Linked DNA regions of Homo sapiens: region 2 is linked to region 1. The links are contacts of gene promoters, found by promoter capture Hi-C in human tissues and cell types (Jung and others, 2019). All regions are on one chromosome and are shown on one strand. Each heading gives the region's core, a stretch centred on a gene start or on the middle of the fragment in contact. The rest is flanking DNA. Distances are from core to core; before and after follow the strand shown.

What was found. Contacts are between HindIII fragments. The study calls those that stand out against the background at their distance.
Region 2: a fragment that was not itself captured here is called in contact with the fragment with the promoter of POP7 in region 1 in 1 of the 25 tissues and cell types used here (aorta).

Annotation. Positions count from the first base shown.
Region 1 is chr7:100,704,506-100,710,792 of GRCh38, reverse strand. POP7 (POP7 ribonuclease P/MRP subunit) reads right to left here and starts at 4,672. Exons shown (of 2, transcript NM_005837.3): 1 at 4,489-4,672; 2 at 3,307-3,972. The coding sequence starts at 3,962. The coding sequence ends at 3,540. RefSeq lists an enhancer at 5,064-5,333. The HindIII fragment of the contact is 15,036 bases long and covers 1-6,287 here.
Region 2 is chr7:100,553,973-100,560,234 of GRCh38, reverse strand. AGFG2 (ArfGAP with FG repeats 2) reads right to left here. Exons shown (of 12, transcript NM_006076.5): 5 at 5,977-6,142; 6 at 4,500-4,625. Among named protein-coding and RNA genes, the nearest start is that of SAP25, 17 kb to the left of the region's middle. RefSeq lists enhancers at 131-180, 451-500. The HindIII fragment of the contact is 7,017 bases long and covers 1-6,262 here.

The sequences.
Region 1 (6,287 bases), core at 3,423-5,922:
CTTCGGCCTTCCAAAGTGCTGGGATTACAGGCATGGCCACCATTCCCAGCCAAATCCACCCATCTCCCCGCCCCACTGTGATCTCTCTGCCAAATATGCCATCTCCCTTCTTTTCTGCCTGGCAAACTCCTATACATCCTTCAACACCCAGATCAAAGGTGAGTGAAACCATTTTGGGTCCCACCAGGAAGTTATTAGCCCTTTCCATCTCCACATTTCCTTATCATTGCTACTCTTATGTCTCACACATCTTACTCATTCACAAAAAATTATGTGTCCACCTTCCCAATTAGATGGCGAGCTCCTTGAACATAGGGACCATTTCATACGCAGATGCCAGAGGAAGGGATTTTGATGAATTAGAAGACTGATCTTCAGACCTCCAAACCAAACTACCTTCCTTGAATTAGAGTGAAATTCTGTTCCTAACCTGTAAATCAGAGGCTCTTAAACTCTTATGACCTCAAACGGTAAAAAACACAATGTACATCCTATTATAGTACATATATATATATATATATATATACACACATGCCTAACTGAAAAATTTGCTGGCCAGGCCTAGTGGCTCACACCTGTAATCCCGGCATTTTGGGAGGCTGAGGTGGGTGGATCACCTGAGGTCAGGAGTTTGAAATCAGCCTGGACAACATGGCGAAACCCCATCTCTACTAAAAATACAAAAATTAGCCAGGCGTGGTGGCACACGCCTATAATTCCAGCTACTCAGGAGGCTGAGACAGGAGAATCGCTTGAACCTGGGAGGCAGAGGTTGCAGTGAGCCAAGATTGTGCTACTGAACTCCAGCCTAGGAGATAGAGACTCTGCCTCAAAAAAAACAAAAACATCTGCAATAAAAACACCACCATTTAAGTTGCACTTTTTTTAAAACTTGGGTTCTTTTTTCTTTTTCTTTTCTTTTTTTAGACAAGGTCTTGCTCTGTCGCCCAGGCTGGAGTGCACTGGCGTGATCTCAGCTCACTGCAACCTCCCCCTCCTGGGCTCAGGTCATCCTCCCACCTCAGCCTCCCAAGTAGCTGGGACCACAGTTTTGTGCCACCATGCCCAGATAACTTTTTATATTTTTTGTAGAGATGGGATTTCGCCATGTTGCCTAGGCTGGTCTCGAACTCCTGCGCTCAAGAGACTGACCTGCCTCGGCCTCCCAAAGTGCTGGGATTATAGGCGTGAGCCACCACACCCAGCCTTATTTTTTTTGTTGTTGTTTTTGTTTTTTGAGACGGACTCGCTCTGTCGCCCAGGCTGGAGTGCAGTGGCACAATCTCGGCTCTCTGCAACCTCCGCCTCCCTGGTTCAAGCGATTCTCCTGCCTCAGCCTCTAGAGTAGCTGGAACTACAGGCATGTGCCACCACGCCTGGCTAATTTTTTGTATTTTTAGTAGAGACAGGGTTTCACCATGTTAGCCAGGATGGTCTTGATCTCTGGACCTCGTGATCTGCCCGCCTCAGCCTCCCAAAGTGCTGGGATTACAGGCGTGAGCCACCGCGCCTGGCTTTTTCTTTTTTTAAGAAGCTGTGACCCACAAATGGGTCACAACCCGCTTTGATAAACATTGCTTTAGTTGACTTTAGTTTGATAAATATGAAAAATCAGGTCATCCCACAAATATCCAAACAGAAAGTATTACCTGTGTGCCCAGTAATTATTTGGAGTGAGGGGTTCCTTCGCCACTGGAGCAGCCCAGTGAGAAGGGTCTGAAGGCCGGGCGCAGTGGCTCATGCCTGTAATCCCAGCACTTTGGGTGGCCAAGGCAGGCAGAACGCTTCAGGTCAGAAGTTTGAGACCAGCCTGGCTGACATGGTGAAACCCCTTCTCTACTAAAAATACAAAAAATTGCAGGGCATGGTGATGGATGCCTATAGTCCCGGCTACTCAGGAGGCTGAGGCAGAAGAATCCCTTGAACCCAGGAGGCAGAGGTTGCAGTGAGCTGAGATCGCACCACTGCACTCCAGCCTGGATGACAGAGTGAAGCTGTCTCAAAAAAAAAAAAAAAAAAAAAAAAGGGTCTGAAGGGCTCTGCACCTGAAAGCCCGGGTATCATCTAGGTAGGCCCTGCAGGTCCAGGAATTAAATGAAGCCACTTGTCAGTCCCTACCATGGAGCCTGACACTAAGAAGGTCCTGAAGTCTTAGTTTGCTTCCTTTTTTTTTTTTTTTTTTTTTTTGAGATACGGTCTTGCTGTGTCAGCAAGGCTGGAGGAGTGTAGTGCGGTGATCACAGCTCACTGCAGCCTTGAACTCCTGGGCTCAAGCGATCCTCCTGCCTCAGCTAACGAGGTAGCTGGGATTATAGGTGCAAACCACTACACCCATCTAGTTTTCAAAAATTTTTTGCATTTGGGAGGCCAAGGCGGGCAGATCACTTGAGGTCAGGAGTTCGAGAACAGCCTGGCCAACATGGTGTTTCCACTAAAAAAATACAAAAATAATTAGCTGGGCGTGGTGGCACTCACCTGTAATTCCAGCTACTGGGGAGGATGAAGCAGGAGAATCACTTGAACCCAGGAGCCGAACGTTGCAGTGAGCCAAGATGGCACCACTGTACTCCAGCCTGGGTGACAGAGCAAGACTTCATCTCAGAAAAAAAAAAAAAGTGGTTTTTTTGCATAGACTAGGTCTCAGTATGTCATCTAGATTGGAGTGCAGGTGGCATGATCATAACTCACTGCACCTTCAAACTCCCAGGCTCAAGCACTCTTTCCGCCTCAGCCTCCGCCAGTAGCTCAGACTACAGGCTGGAGCCACTGCACCCAACTAGAAGACGAAAATCTTTAAAACAAACATTGGGGCTGGGCACGGTGGCTCACGCCTGTAATCCTAGCACTTTGGGAGGCCGAGATGGGTGGATCACAAGGTCAGGAGATCGAGAACATCCCTGCTAACACGCTGAAACCCTGTCTCTACTAAAAATACAAAAAAATTAGCCAGGGTGTGGTGGCAGGCACCTGTAGTCCCAGCTACTCAGGAGGCTGAGGCAGGAGAATGGCGTGAACTCAGGAGGTGGAGCTTGCAGTGAGCCAAGATTGCACCACTGCACTCCAGCCTGGGTGACAGAGTGAGACTCTGTCTCAAAAAACAAACAAACAAACAAACATTGGGATGACTGGGTTTCTGCACTGTACTGTTTTGTTACACTGCTCATAGCATAATCTATGCTCTCTATAGAGGCAAGAAACACTTGGGTTCCCCTTTCACCTAGATACCTGTAGCGTTTCCTACCATCCCTATTCAGGCACACACAGAATTTACACAGGAAAGAATCAGTGGCAGTGGGATGGCAGGACACTAGTGCAACAGGATTTTTTATTTATATGGCAATAGTTACAGACCGCATACACACACTCAGGAAGGCCCACTAACTGGGCCCACCAAGAGACAATTACCCCCACCCTCAATGCAGAGTCCTTTGGGCTTCCAGGGAACAGGCCTTTTCTTACATGGCTCTGGTCCGAGGTCCAGTACTCAGCATGCGAAGAGCCATATCACGGAGGGGATAAGTGGAGGAGTGTCTTTTCAATTACTTGGGTGTGACCCTGAAGACTCGGATGTGGATGGCTGAGTTGTTGCGGATCCGAGTCAGTGGCTCCCGTGTGTCGGTCTCTGGCTCCAGCTCATCAACAAGCTCCACGGTGGAGGTATTGGCAGCCACCTGCAAGGACCCGAAGCTGCCCGCCTGCAGCTGCAGCGCGATGTTGATGGCGCGGTTGATGGCCAGGCCCAAGCCGTGAATGTAGATCTCAGAGCACGCGTTCTGACCCCGGGCCCCTCCGTCCAGCAGCTTCTGGCAGCGGGCCAGCTGGGCCTTAAAGTCCGTCTTCATGTTGACATAAATGTCATTGGGTCTCCGGGGCAGGCGGCTGGGAAGCCTTTTCCTAAGGGTGTATTCCACTGGATCCAGTTCAGCCTCCACAGCACCGCGGGGCTCTCGGTTTTCTGCCATGCTGTGTGCCCTGGCGTGGGAAAGGGACGCGATCAGAGGGCTCAGAGGGACCTCGAAGCCTTTCCTACCCCTTTTCCTGTACAAAGGGTGCACCTGGCCGGGCAGTGGCTCACGCCTGTAACCTCAGCACTTTGGAAGGTCGAGGCGGGAGGATCACTGGAGCCCGGGTGTTTGAGATCAGCCTGGGCAACATAGCAAGACCCTGTCTTAAGAAAAATTTTTTTAATTACCCGGGCCGAGGGGGGAGGATCGCTTGAGATCGGGAGTTCGAGGCTACAGTGAGCCGTGATCGCGCCCGCCACTGCACTCTAGCTTGGGAAACAGAGCAAGCCTCTGTCTCAAACAAAAACAAAAACAAAAATAAAGGGTGCACCCGAGAAGGGACACACTCGATGTCCCTGTTTCCTTCCGGCCCCTCGTCCTCTCCCACTCACCTCCAGATCCCGCGTCTCCCCACCCCCCGTTCCGATTCATTCATCGCGTCGCCCTCAAACTCGCGCCCCTCCGCCGCCCCTCCCGTGCTTACTCTCTTCGTTCCACAGGGCCCTCCAGGCGCGCGAGGCCCGCTCCCCGCCAGGCCACTCAAGGGTTCGCCGGCCAGCCCAAGTAACCGCGACCCCAGGTCCCAGAGAAAGAAGGATGTGGGTGCAAGCAGCCAGCCAGCTCGTGGGCGCCCTGCCCGCGCCGGGGTCCTGAACGGGCTGCGGAGTGCGCACGCGCGCCCGTACCCCGCGAGCTATGAATCGCCTTCCCGGCTTCCGTTCGCCCCGCCCCTTCCCTGAGCGCAAGGGCGACTGCGCGAGGCGTTTGAGAAACGCGAGACTTCCGGGCGTGACGGGATCTACACGTGTACGCCTCGGGAACTGGCGGGCGGCCGAGGGCGGGAACCAGGTCCGAGCCGGGGAGGAGCTAGAAAGGGCCGGGTCGGCGTCTCTAGGCCTGGCGGAGTTCCCGGCCGGCGGAGGGGTAGCGTAGGGAAGACACCTGGAGGGGAGGCTGTTCTAGGGGCAGGGTTCTTCCCCATGGGAGCAGGGAAGGGGCCGAGTTCAGGAGACCGCGGTCGCCAAGGGGCCTGAACTCCGCGTCCGTCGCAGCTCCTCTGGTCAGAAGAGGCCTGGGCAGGGCTGGCAGAACTGACCCCCTAGTCTAATGTCCCTGTGGCCCGAGGACCGAGGGGGAACTGAGGGACATAGCCGGTCCCCACCTCGCTGGAGGACAGCGTCCCGGGACTCCCCTGCAGTTCACGGGAAGCTGTCCGCCTCCTGTCTGTGCTGGGGACCCACGCTGTGAGCCCTAAGCCCAGGCTTCACGGGTCCCCAAGGAACGCTGACCCACCCACGCCCCTCAACCATCTCCCACCAGCTCTGCAGCAGGCGACCCCGGATCAGGGACTTGCCGCCCCCTGGCGGGCAAGGTGGGGAGGACGCGCGCCGGATTCGTGGCTCTCAGGCCAGTGGAGTGGGGGCTCTGCCCAGATGGGCATAGTTTCTGCAGAGTTCCCTTCTGAAATGAGTAGGACCTGCTGCACTGGGGACCTTGAACTACTCTGTTTGCCCAGCATTCAAATGGGGATGTTCACAACAGCTCCACCATATTGCACATGCATTTTATTGAATGGCTAGCTGTATAGCTTCTGTCTACAAACTTGCATGCATTTATTTTTGAGACAGGGTCTCTGTGGCCCAGGCTGGACTGCAGTGGTGTGATCTCAGCTCACTACAACCTCTGCCTACCGGGTTCAAACGATTCTTGTGCCTCAGCCTCTTGAGTAGCTGGAATTACAGGCGCACGCCACCGCACCCGGCCAGTTTATTTCATTTTTTTGAGACAGGGCCTTACTCTGTCACCCAGGCTGGAGTGCAGTGGCGTTAACACGGCTCACTGCAGCCCTGAACTCCTGGGCTCAAGCAATTCTCCCGCCCCAGCCACCTGAACAGCTTGGACTACGGGCATGCACTAGCATATAAAGTTGTATTTTAGAAGTTAATCCTTGGTATTGAAATTTTCGATATGTTGGCCGGGCGCGGTGGCTCACGCCTGTAATCCCAGCACTTTGGGAGGCTGAGACGAGCGGATCACGAGGTCAGGAGATCGAGACCATCCTGGCTAACACGGTGAAACCCCGCCTCTACTAAAAATACAAAAAATTAGCCGGGCATGGTGGCAGGCGCCTGTAGTCCCAGCTACTCGGGAGGCTGAGGCAGGAGAATGGCGTGAACCCACGAGGCGGAGCTTGCAGAGAGCCAAGATCGCGCCACTGCACTCCAGCCTGGGGGACAGAGCCAGACTCCATCTCAAAAAAAAAAAAAAAGAAATTTTCGAAAT
Region 2 (6,262 bases), core at 1,971-4,470, 150 kb after region 1:
TGCACTCCAGCCTGGGCGACAGGGCAAGACTGTTTCCAAAAAAAAAAAAAAGCCAGCAGCATGGTGTTGGATCCTCTACTGACTCTCCCAGCCGAGGCCTTTCCCTGCCTGCCTGCCTCCAAGTACAGTATGTGGAATTTCCACGCAAGCACGGCTCCCTTTCCTCGGATGGCTGACTCTTTGTGCTGCTGTGGTCCTGCATGTTCCAGGAGCTTCACCCAGTGAGGACCAGGCTGGGAGAGAGGCTGCAGGCCATGCTGTGCCTCCCTGTGGACACTAGGGGGCAGAACCATCCCTAGCCCAGGCAGGGTTGGCCCTTTGCACAGAGGGTGCATTCTCACAAAGGAGGCGGTGGCCCAAGAAACACCTGCACTCCTGTTTGCTTTTCATTTCATGCACTTTTTTTTTTTTTTTTTGAGACAGGGTCTCATTCCAATTGCCCAGGCTGGAGTGCAGTGGCATGATCTCAGCTCACTGCAGCCTCGACCTTCAGGGCTCAGCTGATTCTCCCACCTTAGCCTCCTGAGTAGCTGGGACTACAGGCACGCACCACTATGGCCAGCTAATTATTTGTATTTTTGGTAGAAATGAAGTTTTGCCATGTTGCCCAGGCTGGTCTCAAACTCCTGAGCTCAGGTGATCTGCCCACCTCAGCCTCCCCAAGTGATGGGATTACAGGCATGAGCCACCACACCCGGCCTTCATGCGCTTCTTATACCACGCAGCTAGATTTCTACCCTGCCTTATCACAGTTTGAGGGAGAGAAGCAGTTTTGAAAACCCCTCTCTCCATACTCCCCCTCAGAAATATAAAAATAAAAGCAGGTTTGTCAGAAGAGACACCCACCTCTCAAAATCTCCTCTCTCAGTTCACACCCAACAGCTAAGTCACACTCACGGGAACACCTGCATGATCATGGTGTAGTGGGAAGCGGTTCTGCCAATTATCAGCATTAGATCTGGGCCAAGTTGAGCCAGTTTCCTGCAAAGGGAAGCTCTTTCCTTCCTCATGGACATAATGCATGAAGGCACCCAACAATGGCAGGATCCTCGGAAATGTTCCTTGGCTCTGGGTTTGGCTGTAGATTGACTGTTTTTGTTTTGTTTGAGACAGAGTCTTGCTCTGTCACCCAGAGTGCAGTGGCGCAATCTCAGCTCACTGCTACCTCAGCCTCCCGGGTTCAAGCAATCTTCCTGCCTCAGCCTCCCCAGTAGCTGGGACTACAGTCACGCACCACCATGCCTGGCTAATTTTTGTATTTTGGTAGAGAGGGGTTTCACCATGTAGGCCAGGCTGGTTTCAAACTTCTGACCTCAAATGATGCACCCCACTCAGCCTCCCAAAGTGCCGGGATTACAGGTATGAGCCACTGCGCCCAGTGACTGACTGCTTTTTGAGACAGCCAGATAGTGGACAAAAGGTTTAATGCTTGGGACATCCGTGGAGCTGAGCCCTTCCTTCTCTCTGAGTCTGCCCCAAAAACTGTCTTTACGGTGAAACCCTGTCTCTACTAAAAATACAAAAAATTAGCCAGGTGTGGTGGCGGGTGCCTGTGGCCCCAGCTACTCAGGAGGCTGAGGCAGGAGAATAGCGTGAACCCGAGAGGCGGAGTTTGCAGTGAGCCGAGATTGTGCCACTACACCCCAGCCTGGGTGACAGAGTGAGACTCCGTCTAAAAAAAAAAAAAAACAAAAACAAAAACAAAAAAAACTCTGTCTTTAGAGCAATCAATTGTACTGGGAAGGCATTTCAGAAGGGACGCATCTATAACAACTTTATATAGGCTGTTTCCTCGAGTGCTCCCATTCCTAGGAGCACACCTTTCTTACTAAATCGAATATTCCTGCACCAATGTACAATTCCTGCCAACAGCGCACAAGAAGGTCATTTTCCCCCACATAATACTGGCCATTATCAATCTAAAAATTTTGCCAACATGATGTGCAAAACTATCTTATCCTAGTTTGCATTTCTCTGATTAATTAGGTTGAGGATATTTTCTTTTGTTTTTTTGTTTTTCGAGACAAAGTCTCGCTCTTGTCGCCCAGGCTGGAGCGCAACAGCACGATGTCTGCTCACTGCAACCTCCGCCTCCCGGGTTCAAGTGATTCTCCTGCCTCAGCCTCCCAAGTAGCTGCTATTACAGGCGCCTGCCACCATGCCCGGCTAATATTTGTATTTTTAGCAGAGACAGGGTTTCACCATATCGGCAAGGCTGGTCTTGAACTCCTGACCTCAGGTGATCCACCTGCCTCAGCTTCCCAAACTGCTGGGATTATAGGCATGAGCCACCGCGCCTGGCCTATTTTCATATTTTTTTTTCTGGGTGTTACCTGCTTATATGTCTTGTCCATTATTATATTTTCATATTCACAGGAATTTTAAAAATACTTTATGGATACTAATTTCCATCTGTTTTCCATGTTGTATCTTCTCTCCATCTGTTTCATACCTTTAAGCTTTGTTTGTGTCATCTTTTATCATACAGAATGTGACCTATGGCCAGGCATAGTGGCCCATGCCTATAATCCCAGAACTTTGGGAGGCCAAGGCAGGCGGATCACTTGAGGTCAGGAGATTGAGACCGGCCTAGCCAACATGGTGAAACCCCGTCTCTACTAAAAATACAAAAATTAGCCGGGCATGGTGGCATGCGCCTGTAATCCTGCTACTCAGGAGGCTGAGGCAGGAGAATCGCTTGAATGAGATCACGCCATTGCACTCCAGCCTGGGCAGCAGAGTAAGACTCTGTCTCAAAAAACACACAAACAACAAAACAACAACAAAAACCAAAATGTGACCTATGTGATTTGTCTTTGTTAGAATTTATGGAGATTTTGTTTCCTATAGTTTATTTCTTACTTGTCTATTAGTCATGTGGGAAAGCATATTATAGTCTCCTAGTCCTTTGGCTTATTAAATTCTGATTGTGTCTAATAGTTTTTGCTTCGTGAATCTCATGGGTATGCGGTCAGTTATTTTAAGTACATGATTTTGAGAACCTCTTTGTGAATTTTAACTTTTTTTTTTTTTTTTGAGACAAGAGTCTTACTCTGTCACTCAGGCTGGAGTGCAGTGGCAGGATCTCGGCTCGCTGCAGCCTCTGTCTCCCAGGTTCAAGTGATTCTCCTGCCTCAGTCCCCTGAGTAGCTGGGATTACAGGTGCCTGCCACCATGCCCAGCTAATTTTTGTATTTTGAGTAGAGACGGTGTTTCACCATGTTGGCCAGGCTTATGTCAAACTCCTGACCTCAGGTGATCTGCCCACCTGGGCCTCCCAAAGTGCTGGCATCACAGATGTGAGCCACCACGCCCAGCCAACTTTTATCAATATAAAATGTTTCTTCTTATAGCCCTCCAAAACGATAAAATAAAAACAAAAGCAGCTAATCAGCTCACAGTGGCACAGTGAGAAGGCTGTGGGCAGAGCATGAGTCAAGAAGTCTGGGCTCTGGTCTCAGCTTGGTCGCTCTGTGGCCTGCATGACTAGGGAAATTGCTTAACTGCCTTATCTGTCAAATGGCCAAATTTTAAGGGTTCCTTCCAGCCCTCAAAACTCTATGATCAGAGGCACTTGGGTAGGCTCTGGGGTGGGGATAATAACTTACCAAAGCTGTAACTTTCAGTTAGCATCCGACTGGCTGGCAGTGAGGGTGGAGAAGAGAAGGGTGGGTAGAGGAAGGGAGAAAGAAAGAGTGTATGTCACTGGCTTTTCCCCAGACATCTGAGCCTGACGGCGAGCACTGCAGCTGCCCTCCCATGTGTCCAGGATGTCCAATGGCAGAAGGCACCCAAAGGCTATGAAGACTCAATGTGTAGAGCTTAGGAAGGAGCAGAATGCTTTAAGAAGGCCTGAAGAGTCTCTTGCAATGGCTAAATAACATAGTTTATTTGGTTTTGTTTGTTCGTTCGTTTGTTTTGAGATGGGGTCTCACTCTGTCACCCAGACTGGAGTGCAATGGCACAATAATCACTCACTACAGCCTCAAACTCCTGGGCTCAAGCGATCCTCCCACCTCGGCCTCCCAAAGTGTTAGGATTGCAGGCGTGAGCCATTGTGGCTGGCAGCAACATAGAGTTTACAGGCCTTTGGTCTTAGAGGGATGGATGAGGACTTCTGGAGACTACCTTGACCCTTGACCCTTTGGGACAGCGTACTATGCAGACAAGAGCACCTTAGAGAAAAAGTCACGTCCATTTTCAATTTTTCTAGGACTCAGGTCTTCCATACTTCCTAGTGAAAAGTTTCCTAGTGTATAACCCACACAGCTCCTGCTGCAATCTTAGTCATTTTCCTTTCATGAAAAAGCAGAACAGTAGAGCCCCCTCTCCCTGACAAGAATGTGTCAGACACGCTCATCCTCTCCTGGAGCTGCTTCTCTTTGTGCTTTGCTGCTTTGAGCAGTTCTTTAGGATAGTGAGGATATGAATGGTGATTTATAGACATGAACAAATGGACACGGTTGGAAGAGAAAGGAAGCCAGTGGGGCAGAGTTTACCTGCAGGAGTTGGCTGGGCCTGGAACGAGGCTTGACCAGCTGGAGGGAGGCTTCCAAACACAGAAGAGCTGGGGCCACTGCTAAAGGCATCAAAGTTGGCAAAGCCTCCTTGGGAAGGTGTCTGGCCTGTAGGTGGAAGAAACATAAAGGTTATATAGAAAATTGTCGGGTGTGGTAGCTCACGCCTGTAATTCCAGCACTTTGGGAGGCCGAGGTGGGCAGATCACTTGAGGTCAGAAGTTCAAGACCAGCCTGGTCAACATGGTGAAATCTGTCTCTACTAAAAATATAAAAATTAGCTGGGCGTGGTGGTACATGCCTGTAATCCCAGCTACCTTGGAGGCTGAGGCATGAGAATTGCTTAAACCTGGGAGGTGGAGCTAGCAGTGAGCCGAGATTGTGCCACTCTACTCTAGCCTGGGTGACAGAATGAGACTCTGACTCAAAAAAAAAAAAAAAAAAAAAAAAAAAACCACACACACACAACAGAAAAAGAAAAGAAAATGTATATGCCTATCCATGTAATATAGCTACTAATTCTAAAGGCCAAAGGCCACTCTTATGGGACATCTGCCTTTCCACAGGGTTCTCTTCAGAGGGAAATGGGTGGGGCCTGGGGCCAAGAGCCAGACCCACACAGGGGAACAGGGGCACCCAGGGCCTCCAGGTTCACTCCCTGCCCTCTTCTGTCCTTACTCCATGAGGCATTAACATTTTTGTCAGGGCCTAGTTTGGAGCATGAAAATTTTTTTTCATGGAGGAAGGAGCTTGAATTTTTTTTTTTTTTTTTTTTTTTTTGAGACGGAGTCTCACTCTGTCACCTAGGCTGGAGTCCAGTGATGCAATTGTGATTCACTGCAACCTCCACCTCCTAGGTTCAAGCAATTCTCCTGCCTTAGCCTCCCAAGTAGCTGGGACTACAGGCACATGCCACCACACTTGGCTAATTTTTTTTTTCTTTTTAGTAGAGATGAGGTTTCACCATGTTGGCCAGACTGGTCTTGAACTCCTGACCTCAGGTGATCTGCCCACCTCAGCCTCTCAAATGCTAGGATTACAGGTGTGAGCCACTGTGTCTGGCTTGAAAATTTTTAAAAAGGGAAAACAGATTCTATGCTGCTGAACCCTCTACTGGCTATTGCTGATTTGGGGGAAGAATAATCTTTGGTGAACTGGAACACATGATAATCCCCCTCCTCCCATTTTAACAGAGACAGAAAATAATAAAAAAGGCTATTTCCAGTGTTCTAAAAGGAAGTGCTAGGAGCCCTCAACTATAATGTTTTAGGATCAAACCCCCAAACATAATCCTGGCTGTACTTATTTGACCCCAGTCCTCCCAGCCTCACTGCTTCAGAGTGACCCTCACATTTGTTTGCATGAGAAGATCTAGAGCCATGGTTACCTCCAGGGACTGGATCTCTCATGTTGTAAGCATATACGCTGTAGGGAGGGTCCCATCCCAAAACCCACTTACCCCCAAAGGCAGGGAATGCAGCAAAAGCTGGTGCCATCTGGGGTGCAGCAAAGGGGTCTCCACCGATGTCAGCCAGCAGGTCAGTACTGGCTTTTTTGACAGAGGAGTGGGGAGGTGGCTGAGTGCTCCGGGCCTGGGATGTCCGAGCGTGAGACTGACTGACGGGCTTGGAGGAGAAGGAATGCATACAGCCCTTAGAATCCCAGACATGCCCCAGGCCCTCCTCTGGCTCCCCAGGTTGCCCTCAGATAGGCAGGTAGAGAGAGAAGACAGTGAGTAACTGCCC